2 separate regions of the Homo sapiens genome follow, and region 2 is linked to region 1. Evidence: promoter capture Hi-C in 16 types of primary human blood cells and fetal thymus (Javierre and others, 2016). All regions are on one chromosome and are shown on one strand. Each heading gives the region's core, a stretch centred on a gene start or on the middle of the fragment in contact. The rest is flanking DNA. Distances are from core to core; before and after follow the strand shown.

What was found. Contacts are between HindIII fragments. The CHiCAGO score rates a contact against its expected background, and 5 or more counts as called.
Region 2: a contact is called between a fragment that was not itself captured here and the fragment with the promoter of E2F5 in region 1, in 1 of 17 cell types (M0 macrophages). The highest score is 5.4, in M0 macrophages.

Annotation. Positions count from the first base shown.
Region 1 is chr8:85,174,437-85,181,490 of GRCh38, reverse strand. E2F5 (E2F transcription factor 5) reads right to left here and starts at 4,337. Exons shown (of 8, transcript NM_001951.4): 1 at 3,837-4,337. The coding sequence starts at 4,070. It overlaps E2F5-DT (E2F5 divergent transcript), which reads left to right and starts at 4,450. Exons shown (of 3, transcript NR_134311.1): 1 at 4,450-4,660. RefSeq lists silencers at 3,477-3,866, 3,877-4,406 and an enhancer at 4,507-4,676. The HindIII fragment of the contact is 15,711 bases long and covers 1-7,054 here.
Region 2 is chr8:84,645,075-84,652,128 of GRCh38, reverse strand. The region is part of intron 2 of RALYL (RALY RNA binding protein like); the gene reads right to left. Among named protein-coding and RNA genes, the nearest start is that of LRRCC1, 460 kb to the left of the region's middle. The HindIII fragment of the contact is 1,382 bases long and covers 3,050-4,431 here.

The sequences.
Region 1 (7,054 bases), core at 3,088-5,587:
GGCGTGGTGGCGGGCGCCTGTAGTCCCAGCTACTCAGGAGCCTGAGGCAGGAGAATGGCGTGAACCCAGGAGGCGGAGCTTGCAGCGAGTGGAGATCGCGACACTGCACTCCAGCTTGGGTGACAGAGTGAGACTCCCGTCTCAAAAAAAAAGAAGAAATGTGTCACTAAGATACAACCTTACGTTCTTATTCTCCAGCAGCATAAGATAGAAAAGAAATAGCATCTATGTGGTCTAGGATACTTTATGATATCCAAAATATTTGGATATTTTACTTGAAGTTTGATATACTTTTTTATTCTTTGGGATATTCAAAAACTGTTTCTTCAAGGCCGGAAGCGGTGGCTCACAGGGGAGACCAAGGTAGGCAGATAGCTTTGAGCTCAGGAGTTCGAGACCAGCCTGGGCAATATGGCAAAACCCTGTCTCTACTAAAAATATAAAAATAAGCCAGGCATAATGGTGTACGCCTGTAGTGCCAGCTACTTGGTAGGCTGAGGCAGGAGAATCACTTGAGCCCGGGAAGTGGAGGTTACAATGAGCTGAGATTGTACCACTGCACTCCAGCCTGGGCGACAGAATAAGACCCTGTCTCAAAAAACAAACAAGACCGGCCGGGCGCGGTGGCTCACGCTTGTAATCCCAGCACTTTGGGAGGCCGAGGCGGGCGGATCACGAGGTCAGAAGATCGAGACCATCCTGGCTAACATGGTGAAACCCCGTCTCTACTAAAAATACAAAAAAAATTAGCCGGGCGTGATGGCGGGTGCCTGTAGTCCCAGCTACTCGGGAGGCTGAGGCAGGAGAATGGCATGAACCCGGGAGGCGGAGCTTGCAGTGAGCCGAGATTGCGCCACTGCACTCCCGCCTGGGCCACAGAGCGAGACTCTGTCTCAAAAAAAAAAAAAAAAAAAAACAAGACCAACCAAAAAACCATATATATATATATATATATATATATATATATATATATATATATGTATAGTTTCTTTAACTGCGTTTAAAAGTCAAGTGTATAACTTAAAAGTTTCAAAAAAATTATGCTGAAATATGCCCCCACCAAAGTAAGAATACAAGAGAAAATGTGTCTTTATAATTTCAAATTAGAGGAAATTTATAATTGTCAGTGTGAGTCCATCTTTAATATGTATTATCAAACATGTCTTAATGGGCTGGGTATGGTGGCTCACGCCTGTAATCCCAGCACTCTGGGAGGCTGAGGCAAGCAGATCATTTGAGGTTGGGAGTTCGAGACCAGCCTGGCCAACATGGTGAAACCCCTTCTCTACTAAACATACAAAAATGAGTCGGGCATGGTGGCGGGCACCTGTAATCCCAGCTACTTGGGAGGCTGAGGCAGGAGAATCGCTTGAACCCGGGAGGTGGAGGTTGCAGTGAGCAGAGATCTGCCACTGCACTCCAGCCTGGGTGACAGAGCAAGACTCAGTCTCAAAAAAAAAAGGCTTTAACGATCTTTTACTATGGTGTATAATAAGAAATATCATTGGAAAGATTTCAATGTAAGATTTTTGGCCGGGCGCGGTGGCTCACGCCTGTAATCCCAGCACTTTGGGAGGCCGAGGCGCGTGGATCACAAGGTCAGGAGATCGAGACCATCCTAGCTAACACAGTGAAACCCTGTCTCTACTAAAATTACAAAAAAATTAGCTGGGTGCGCTGGCGGGCGCCTGTAGTCCGAGCTACTCGGGAGGCTGACACAGGAGAATGGCGTGAACCCGGGAGGCGGAGCTTGCAGTGAGCCCAGATCGCGCCACTGCACTCCAGCCTGGGCGACAGAGCAAGACTCCGTCTCAAAAAAGAAAAAAAAAAGATTTTTACATATATAAGTATATATAAATAAATGAAAAATATACGTAAAATACATAAAACATATGTTTTTCATACATATATATGAAAACTAAAGACATTCAAACTCTTTTCTAGGAGTATGAAGTCATTAATATAATGAGACAGTGTTATTGTAGAAACCTTTGAATTTTTAGGAGAGTTCCAGAATGAATAAAGCAATTATTGTCATGAAATACCAAACTTTACATCCTACTCACTGCCTCTGTGACTTCTGTAGGGCAATTATATAGCCACAGATGAAACAGGAGGAAGCTAAAGAATTTCAAGTCAAGAAAGGGCAAAGTTCCACCATATCCTGAGGCAAGCTGAGGGAGAAGCCCTCAAAGTCCAGCCGTCAGAGTTCAGTTTTACCTGGAAAACCCCAAACTTCCCTGATTTTCTTACACCAAAGTCACAGGCTACAGCTGAATTTCTAGATTTTGAACAGCAGTTTGCCACCTGTGCTTTGTAACATTCCTGGCTTTCTCTGATAACTTCATGACTTCCTGTGAAATTCTTTAAACAGAATCCATTTTAATTCACTACAATTTAAATACTACACATGCCATAAATCACTTTCAGGGAGAGAAAGGAAGAAGGGGCTGTGGTGGAAAAAAGAGAACAAGGAATTTCCAGAGGTGGGAAAAAAATTCCAGGAATAACATATCAAAAAGAAAATAGTAGAAATTACTTACCAAAATGCAAAATATGTGCAGCATGCCTCAGTTGTATGAAGTTGAACAATTTAGGTAATTCAGTTCAACAATCACTGATTGAACACCAACTACATCCAGGGAAAGGAGAGGGCACTGAAAAGATCTACTTCCCCTTGGGCTACACTGGAGGAGGGCCTCTAGCAGAAGAGTTGGCCCCTGCAAGTCTTGGTCCTTACATTCAGGGAGCTGCCACTGCTTTATGCAGAGCCTTGAGGATGCAGTGACACTCTCAAGCCAGGTAAGGTGGTCCAGGCACTCCCCTGGGAGCTGGGGCCAATCCTCCAAGTAAGGCCACATTTAGGGAGTCAAAGGGGATTTGCAGTGATTATTGGGCAGTTAGTGTTTTTTGTTTGTTTGTTTCTAAAACTTTAGTTCTTAAACTTCGCGCGGAGTGACCACATTCTCATTATCCTGAGCGCTGTTGAATTCTTCCAAATCCTTCCTAGATCGGTTAAGTCATTCTGTATGACAGAACAGCTTTTGATGCCTGCTCCTGTTTGAAAAATCTGAACGCTGTAAAGGACGACGCAGGGAGAGAGTTTACTGAGCACTTCCACCTCTTTGGGTGAAAGTTGTAAAATATCCCCTTTTCGTGTGACAGCAGATCTCACTTTTGGAAACCCATGACACATGCCAAATGAAGTCACAAATCAAATACCCCTCCTAACTATCAGGGTGATGAAAGAAGTGCACAAGGAAGATTTAATACTATTTTATCGGGGAGGGGCGTGGAAAGAAGTACTCTTTTTTTTTTTTCTTTCATCTGGTAGAGATGGCAGACTGGGTTTTGTTTTTCCTCCTTTTTATTTAAACTACAGGAACATGGTTCCAACTGGAATCGCCTATTAAAACCATCCATTCTTAACAGCAAAATCGATATCCACGGTGTCTCCGGGCAAAGCGCCCGTTACCCCGTGAGCCTCTGCCACAGGTGGACGCAGAGCAACAGACACTCGGTTACCCTCAGGTCCCTGCGCCCGGAGACAGAAGCCACGCGGGCGCGCTCGAGGTCCTGGGCTCTTTGTCGAGAGCCCAGCGTGGCGCCGGGCCCCATTGGTTACGCGTCCGCTCGGTGCCATCCTGGTCCCTCGTCCCTCCCCCATCCCGGCGTCCACGACCCGGGCGCAGGCCACATGGTCCTCGGATTGCCCGGTCCCGGGTCCCCGCAAGGCGCGTCTACACCACGCCGCTAGACCCACGCGGCGAGGGGCTGGGCTTCCCCGGGGGCCACGGGTTCCGAAGTCCGCCCCCGTCCCCGCCTCCGGAGCTCACCGCTTTGAGATCCAGAACGCCGTCCTTGGCCTCCTGCAGCAGCGACACGAACTTGGTAGTGAGCAGCCCCAGGCTCTTCTCGTGCCTGCTGCTGCCGCCCCCGGCGCCCCCGAGCTGCGGCGGCGGGGGCGGCTGCGGGGCTTGCGCCTGCGGAGGCTGCGGCGGCGGCCGCTGGCCCTGCCCCTGCCCTGCCGGCGCCTGCTGGCCCGAGCTCGCGGGCTCTGCCGCCGCCATCGCGTCCCGGCCCCGCGGTGGTCGGGCCCCCGCGCACTTTCGCTCGCCGGCCCCGCCCGCGGCCACCTGCCGGGTCGGCTCCGCTGCGGCCGCTTCCCCGCCCGCCGAGAGCGGTAGTGCGGGTCGCTGGCTGCTGCAAACAACAGGTGTGCGGCGCCCACGGGAGTCTGGGCCGCTTGTCACGCCGGGCCTCCGCCCCCTCCCCAAGCCCGGGGAAGCGTGAATGAGGCCCACGACCGAGGGGGGAGGGGTGGAAACGAGGAGAAGGGGCTGCGAGGGGTGGGGACCTGAGTTTAAATGGCAGGAAGTGACGCCGCCGCCCGCCGTTGCCTAGAAACACATTTTTCTGTAGGAAGGAGGAGCGCACGAGGAGGAGGAGGGGTGTTGGCGCGTGTGTTTCACACTCGCCTCCCTGGCGTTCGCGAGCTGACCCGAGGAGTGGTAATCTCACGCGGCAAAGCAGGGAGGAAGAAAAAAAGGAGACAAAAGAAAAAAAGACTTTTATCTGGGCAGAAAGTCACAATGCCTAGCGGCCAAACGTTTGTGAGCGGTGAAGTTGGTTGACTGCTCAAGTTTGCAGAGCTTCAGCAGTAGGTTACTTTCTCTGGACGGTTTCTGCTATCTTTGCTCTTTTCGAGCTCTAGCATCGTTTGCAAATATTTCAATGACTTGGACCAAGTGCAGAGTTTTACTTCATAGCTCACCCTTTTAGATTCGGAGTACAGAAAAAGGCATCGTGGAGTTTTAGGGTTGGTTTTCATCAATCCTTTCCAAGGCCTTTACTTTCTACATGGAGAAACGTGTAGAGGGAGAGGTTGTGAATTGCCAAAGACATGCCGTTAGATTCCAGATCTCCTGTGTTTGACCAAAGTTCTTGACCAAAGTTCTTAATATCTTATTTGAACCAAATTATATTGTATTTGGAATATTGGGTAGCCACAGGCCCTTGGACTTCAGTGATATTCCAAACTATTGATGGCAAATGACATTATGGAGATCTGAGTAAAAGAAAGTCGTTGGGATTTTTTCCTCATTATATTACAAACTCTTGAGAATCCAGACTAAATTTTAAATGACTTGTTGTCACACTCAACACTTTGAATATAGTAGACAATAAAGATTAGGCGAATGAGACCAGGCGCGGTGGCTTACGCCTGTAATCCCAGCACTTTGGGAGGCCGAGGCAGGCAGATCATTTGAGATCAGGAGTTCGAGACCAACCTGGCCAACATGGTAAAACCCCGTCTCTACTAAAAATACAAAAATTAGCGGGGGGTGGTGGTGCCCGCCTATAGTCCCAGCTACTCCAGAGCCTGAGGCAGGAGAATCTCTTAAACCCAGGAGGCAGACGTTGCAGTGTTGCAGTGAGCCGAGATGCCACCACTGCACTTCAGCCTGGGCAACAAAGCAAGACTCTGTCTCAAATAAAAAAAAAAAAGATTAGGTGAATGAAAATTCTATATGGCAATAATTAATCAAGAAGATTTCATGCAAGAAAGATTTTGCTTAATTTTAAGTAACAATAAACTAACAAAAAAGGTCACTGAAGCGACATCAAATACAACAGCATTAACTAGTAAAGCTGAACACACCATTTATAACACATCATAGGCACAGAACTTTATAACCTTTATTAATAACCTATTCATAATAACCTTTATTTTAATCAAATCTATAAACAAAACTTAAAATTGAAAATCTGAAGTAAAACATGAAAAATTCAGTTGATACAACCATTTTCCAACAACCTATCCAAGAAAGGCTATCTTTATTTGATTTGACATGGGACACATCATTGACAAGTTTTGCAAATTTATTTTATTGATTATTGTCAAGTAGTATTTCTTAGAACATACTGAATTAGGAAGATTCTAATTTGTTTTTAACTTTATAACAGAACATTGTGTTATATGTGCAGGGACAGGAATTAATAACACTAAATGTATTAATATTTTTAAAACTTACACTTCTATGGTGTCTTAGTTTGAGAAAGTACCATAAACTGGGTGACTTAACGGAAATTAATTTTCTCACAGTTCTGGAGGCTGCAAGTCGACGATCAGGAGGCTGCCATGGCCAGGTTGTGGTGAGGGCCCCCTTCTTGGCTGTCAGATTGTGGCTTTCTCATTGTGTCAAATGGCAGAGAGAGAGAGAAAGACAGACAGAACAGAGACAGCATAAGCTCTCAGATTTCTTATAAGGGCACTAATTCCATCTGAGGGCTCAATCTTCACGATTTCATCTAAACCTAATCACCTCCCAAAGGCCCGAGGGTTAGGGTTTCAACATACAAATGTTGGGGAGATATAGTTCATCCCATGGCATGTAATCATATTTTATAGTAGCTATCTTGGTAATTTTTAAAAACAATATTTTTTAAATTTCAGCTTTAAAAGGTTTTCTACAAAGCAATTATATTATTAGTGATTCTAAAAGGTCAATTAACAATTTATTTTGCACTGTTATTTGTGTTTTTCACAATGAATTTTTTATCTCTTTAGATTGCCTGGGGTTCAATTAGAAATTATTCACAAATTAGCAGCCATTTTAATTAGCATTCAAAATCTTATGTCTGTCTGAAGAGCTAAAAATCGCTTATACCAGTGGTTCCCAGACCTTAGGGGAAAAAATCATCTACAATGTTTGTTAAAAATCTAGATGCTTGGATCCAAACCCCAGGGATCAAATTAGCATTTGATATGAGAATATGACCTGTGAGTCCACATTTTTCACAGTTCAGATAATTCTCATGCACAACATAGTCATTCTTTGAGAAACGCCAAATAGCACAATGAAAAATAATGCAATATATATTTTTCCTAAAAATCGACAAAAAACAGAGATTGATAATGCAAAAGTTTTTTAAATATTGCTAAATGTTTTTAAAAATTCTATTTTTTAAAAAAACTAAGAAACATGATTTTTTAAAAGTTATGATACAAATAATGTTTAAGAACATGATATTGATCAGTTTTGTAATTTAA
Region 2 (7,054 bases), core at 2,491-4,990, 530 kb after region 1:
GAAACACATTTGACAGCAAAGTGTCTTACACTTGAGATTCCTATGTGCAATCACAGGGGACTGGAATCCTTATGAGACATTTTAGGCCTTTGGATTTAATAATATGTTCAATTTTCATGTCAAATAAAAATGTGAGGATTCTGGCAAAAGATTCTAAGATCTTTACTATGCAAAGACTTGTAGAAATATTCTCATTTTCTCAGATTCAAGATATTTGGACGTTTTTTCTACTCTTTTAAATTATCCTAATCCAATTGATCTGCTCTTTTCTTTCACAGGCTTTATCTACAGAATCTGACATCCTGTTCCTTTCCAACAATTGGCTCAATACATTACCTACTTTGCTCCAAATCTAATTCAATAATTATCTTTATTTCCTCAACTTTCTCTCAAAAGTCTATTTCTCTTAAGTTTTTTTCATATAACACGTTTTATGAAATTGTCATAATTTTTGATCAGCACCTTAACTTTTGTCAATTCCAAAGTCTGTAAAGTATATCAAATGACATATTTATGTATTCTGTTACTTATTTTTGACACTTTAAACTTTTCAAGATCAAATAAATTCAAATGCTGTGTTTATTCTATGGAAAACATTTGCCTCTATCTCTAAATTTAATTGCTGCCAAAACCTGGAGGTTGAAGTAAATTTCTGTGTTTCAGCAAATTTCCCTATTTGTCTCATAATTAGGATTGAATTTAGTCATAAGTATTTTATCTTCACTGCTTGTGCCTAGAAATAAGAAATTTAATATTGTGGTTCCATACAAGTTATTAATTATAGTATAATTATTAACTATATTAACTGTATTATTCATAGTTATGGCATTCATATCATGCTATCCTTATTGCCAGGCATTGGTCTAAATAAATTTTATTTTATTTTAATTTTTTTAATTTTATTATTATTATACTTTAAGTTTTAGGGTACATGTGCACAATGTGCAGGTTAGTTACATATGCATACATGTGCCATGCTGGTGTGCTGCACCCATTAACTCATCATTTAGCATTAGGTATATCTCCTAAAGCTATCCTTCCCCGCTACCCCCACCCCACAACAGTCCCCAGAGTGTGATGTTCCCCTTCCTGTGTCCATGTGTTCTCATTGTTCAATTCCCACCTATGAGTGAGAATATGCGGTGTTTGGTTTTTTGTTCTTGTGATAGTTTACTGAGAATGATGATTTCCAATTTCATCCACGTCCCTACAAAGGACACGAACTCATCATTTTTATGGCTGCATAGTATTCCATGGTGTATATGTGCCACATTTTCTTAATCCAGTCTATCATTGTTGGACATTTGGGTTGGTTCCAAGTCTTTGCTATTGTGAATAGTGCTGCAATAAACATACGTGTGCATGTGTCTTTATAGCAGCATGATTTATAGTCCTTTGGGTATATACCCAGTAATGGGATGGCTGGGTCAAATGGTATTTCTAGTTCTAGATCCCTGAGGAATCGCCACACTGACTTCCACAAGGGTTGAACTAGTTTACAGTCCCACCAACAGTGTAAAAGTGCTCCTATTTCTCCACATCCTCTCCAGCACCTGTTGTTTCCTGACTTTTTAATGTTTGCCATTCTAACTGGTGTGAGATGGTATCTCATTGTGGTTTTTATTTGCATTTCTCTGATGGCCAGTGATGGTGAGCATTTTTTCATGTGTTTTTTGGCTGCATAAATGTCTTCTTTTGAGAAGTGTCTTTTCACGTCTTTCGCCTACTTTTTGATGGGGTTGTTTGTTTTTTTCTTGTAAATTTGTTTGAGTTCATTGTAGATTCTGGATATTAGCCCTTTGTCAGATGAGTAGGTTGCAAAAATTTTCTCCAGGGCAATTAGGCAGGAGAAGGAAATAAAGGGTACTCAATTAGGAAAAGAGGAAGTCAAATTGTCCCTGTTTGCAGATGACATGATTGTATATCTAGAAAACCCCATTGTCTCAGCCCAAAATCTCCTTAAGCTGATAAGCAACTTCAGCAAAGTCTCAGGATACAAAATCAATGTACAAAAATCACAAGCACTCTTATACACCAATAACAGAAAAACAGAGAGCCAAATCATGAGTGAACTCCCATTCACAATTGCTTCAAAGAGAATAAAATACCTAGGAATCCAACTTACAAGGGATGTGAAGGACCTCTTCAAGGAGAACTACAAAGCACTGCTCAATGAAATAAAAGAGGATACAAAGAAATGGAAGAACATTCCATGCTCATGGGTAGGAAGAATCAATATCATGAAAATGGCCATACTGCCCAAGGTAATTTATAGATTCAATGCCATCCCCATCAAGCTACCAATGACTTTCGTCACAGAATTGGAAAAAACTACTTTAAAGTTCATATGCAACCAAAAAAGAGCCCACATCACCAAGTCAATCCTAAGCCAAAAGAACAAAGCTGGAGGCATCACACTACCTGACTTCAAACTATACTACAAGGCTACAGGAACCAAAACAGCATGGTACTGGTACCAAAACAGAGATATAGATCAATGGAACAGAACAGAGCCCTCAGAAATAACGCCGCATATCTACAACTATCTGATCCTTGACAAACCCGAGAAAAACAAGCAATGGGGAAAGGATTCCCTATTTAATAAATGGTGCTGGGAAAACTGGCTAGCCATATGTAGAAAGCTGAAACTGGATCCCTTCCTTACACCTTATACAAAAATTAATTCAAGATGGATTAAAGACTTAAACGTTAGACCTAAAACCATAAAAACCCTAGAAGAAAACCTAGGCATTACCATTCAGGACATAGGCATGGGCAAGGACTTCATGTCTAAAACACCAAAAGCAATGGCAACAAAAGCCAAAGTTGACAAATGGGATCTAATTAAACTGAAGAGCTTCTGCACAGCAAAAGAAACTACCATCAGAGTGAACAGGCAACCTAAAAAATGGGAGAAGATTTAAATAAATTTTAGAAAGTTAAAGATTAACATGGTCTATAACCTGAAGGGATTTATAGAAGAGTTTTGGTGACAACATATGCAATCCTTATGTGAACCTAATAAATGAGTGAATATGATTAATAAGCTTTTTATAAAAATAACACAAAGGGAGGGAGGTCTTGAGAATAAGATATCACTGTGAGAAATTCATTTAACAAATATTTACTCTATGAATGAGCACCATGTGGTGTTATGCTTAAAGGGATGATAGATAAATAAGACTATCATTTTCCCTCCAGAAGAAACAACTCCAAAAGATTTGGTGAGAAAATCTTCTCAGATAGGTAGATGGAACCACCATGTGTTCCCTGTATCACTTTTGTTAAGATATTATAGTATTATTTAAATTTTATATATACATATATAAATAATACACATACATATTCATAATTCAACTTAATGCATTGAATATAAATTCAAATAATATATTAATAATTTCATCAAAATGCTTAAGACATCCTTTTTATGATTAGAAAACATGAGAATTAAATATTTTCCTCTTTTGAAATTTATACATTTAAATATTTTAATAAGATGTATAATGATTTATTCCATGCATAGTAATGTGGATATACTCTAAAGTTTTAGATTTTTCTTATGTTAATAGTTCACCCGTGTGAAAAATGTTTAGCATGGCCAGGGAAAAGGAATCAGAATCATTGGACAAAAGATTATCTTCAGCAAACTAATTCTAGCCTTGCAGTGAAAAGCAACCCTCTGGCACCATCTACTGACTGCATTGCTTTACTTTCTAATCAAACCACATGCAAATTAGTACTGAATGAATAAAACATAAACTTTTCTTCCTCATTTTTTGTTTATGATGGGGAGCTTGAGCCATGGATGCTGACAGCAGTTGATGAATTAAGATAAACTGGCAAATTTATGTGGCACCTGTGGAATCTGATGTTTTCTAATTGCTAATGAAAACTTGCTTTAATGTGTCTGCAGGAGTCTACCTCCACAGGTGATATACTGGAATGTTTAATCAGAGACCAAAATGATCTTTGCCAGAATGAAGCGGCAATGTCGTGTGTGTGTGTGTGTGCACGCATGTGCGCACATGCTCAAGCATTTACACTCTGCTGGAGAGTCCCTAACACAATATTCTGTGGTACTAACTTTAAACCTGGACATTGAAAAGACAGCTATGCAAAGAGCACCCATTACCTACTACTGTATAGGGAAATACTTTGACATGGACCATTTAATGTAATCCTTCCCCAAATTACAGATGAGAAAATTAGGTACAAAATGATTAAGCACCTTGCACTAACTCACATCTTCCAGGATTTTCATTCAAATGTCACTTTTTCAGTAAGCTCTTTCATAGCTGTCTTGCCTAAAATTCTGAACATCTCTCCAGCACTCGTTATCCTTCTTTCCTGTTTAATAATGATCACCATAACATACTGTGTCTTTTACTTACATATTGTTTCTTGTGTATCTCCCTCCATGGAATGTAAGCTTCATGACACCAGGAGTTTTATCAGTTCTCTTCAAGGGAAAGGTAAATACTAGAGATAATAAATTGAGTCCACAAAGACCTATCATTCTCTCACACTAGAAGATTCTTTTGTGAGCTCCAAAACTGCATATTCTGGGTTATATTTCATTATAGGTTAACTTAATAAAATCTCTTTATGAATTGCAACATTATGTTGTGAAAAGAACACAAGGTGTGAAATCATGTAGATAGATTTGAATACCACCTTCTCCAATTTCTATCTTCAGGCATGTTTATTCAGTCCTTACAAATACACATCACCCTCTTACTTCTCTGACCTTTCATCTTACTCTTCTTTTCCATATTCACCTGCACATCCATAGTCCAGCTCCCCTCATTTCTGTTCCGCAAACATGCCAGAGATGCTTACACCTCAAGACCATCATGCTGTTTCCTCTGCCTGAAATGCATCCCCATCCAATATCCCACTGCACAACTTTCTAATCCTTTTCAAGGCTTTGTTTAATATAACTTTCTCATTAACATCTTCTCTGTTCACCTCCAGATCTTAAAGACCTATAGGCTTGGAGAACAAGGTTGGCGTCCTGAGCTTGAATCTCCCCATTGATCCTTCTCCCAAAAAACTATAAAACCAACAAGGGGAACAAACAAAACCACAGATGATTCACACATCCAGGAGCACTAGGAAGTATTTCCATTGCCTGTGGGTGTGGAGAAAGAAGGAGAGGAAACTTAAGAACTAAAAAAGAGTAGGATTCTAGATGAATTAGATAAAACACAAACAAAATCATCATCAAAGTGAGAAAGTTCAATACAAATACCAAAATGCTGAACACAGGTCAGAACTTGGTGGTTCCTAACACTGGGTTTAGCGAAAGTAAGTGGTGCCAGAAGTGGCAACAGCAGGGAGTTATTGACAGTAGATGGAAGGGGGAAGTCAGATGTATGAAGTTGGAAAGGAAAGAAACAAAGAAAACAAAAAGGAATAAAACACTCCAATCCCTCCGCCCACAACACTGCAATCAAAACACCATTCATAAAAGAAATTACACAGATTTGGGCTGAACTGAAAGAAGTGGGCACTCTCAATTTATGAAGAGTATAGCCATAGAAAAAAAATCAGACCACATCCACACACAACTATTTTGAAAAATCACTTAAATTGAATTGACGCATTTCAGCTGATGAAAATTTTTCCCATAAAACCAACCAAAGAACTTAAGAGACCTATAATACAATCCCCCAAACTAAATTAAATATCCTCAAATGAGCATTTGGAAATTTTTTCAAAGTATGCTGAATTAGAAAGATAAACACTGAAAGCAGCAAAGGACAAAAACAGGAAGAAATAAAATGAGAATCAATTGAACCCAAGAAAGAAATAAAAAAATTAAATATCAGAATTGAAAAGTAAGTTACAAAATGACCAAAAATATGAATTCAAATGACAATTTTATAAAGGGTATTGAATAAAGAGAAAAACAACCAGGGTAATGTAAATGACATTTTTATTTAAAAAAAAATAAAAGAAAAAGGGTCAGAGAGAAGATGCTTGAAATGGAAGCTAAGTAAAGGATGTCCGAGATTTGCATATCTGGAGCCTTTCACTAAGAAAACCAAAACCATGAAAGAGAACTAATATTTAAAACTATAGGTCAAGGAAACTTTCCAGAAAACAAAAGAAGACCTGAATCTGCATCTTGAAAGGATGTATTAAGGAAAATTGAACTGGTGTGAGCAATTCCAAACCATACTCAAGTAAAACTATTAGACTTAAAAAAACATAAAGTATCCTCAGGGTCTCCAGGAAATGAAATGACAAGGTACAAAAGCATGAGAATAGACAGGCAATCAGACCTCTCAAAAATAAAACCAACATGAAGCAGAAGTTTCAAGAAATTTAGAAATTCTGACATCAGCTAAGTCCTTGAAGTGTGAAAGGAATAGAAAAAAGTTTTGAATGTGCAAAACACACACTTATGTGTCCTTTCAAAGGAATCTGCTAGAGGATGAGCTTCATCCAACCAAGTCTGACCAAAGGACTGGGGGTATTTCATATTTTTACTAGCAGACCTAAGACAAAGAACTGAGACTACAAAGTCTTAATCTTGGGTAAAAGAATAATATGTAAACATAATATATTCTCACAAAAATAAAACTTAAAAAAGAAAACATGGAAAAGGAGAAAGGAAAGTAGAATCATTTCATTAACTATTGTCCATGTCTTAGATAGGATTTGAAAGATACCAATTAAAATTGACAGAAGAGATTGTAAAAATTTTAAAATGGAGAAAACAGAAACAGAAAAATTAAGATTACTATATAAAATATTAAACCAAAAATAACCACTAGAGCTGGAATAGAAATCTTCATAAATATAGTATAAATATATAGTATAAACAAGTTAAAATGTAGTATAAACAAGTTAAATGATGTAAACAACAACAAAAACACAACATAGTGGGGGGAAAACACAGTAAAAATAATATATTCAGTAATTACAACATAAGATACCATGACAATTGAGACCCAACATATTAGTCACATCCTAAATGTGATTAGGATGTATTCATTTAATAATAATAATAAAATTTCAATTTGGCTTATAAAGCAAAACTGAATTC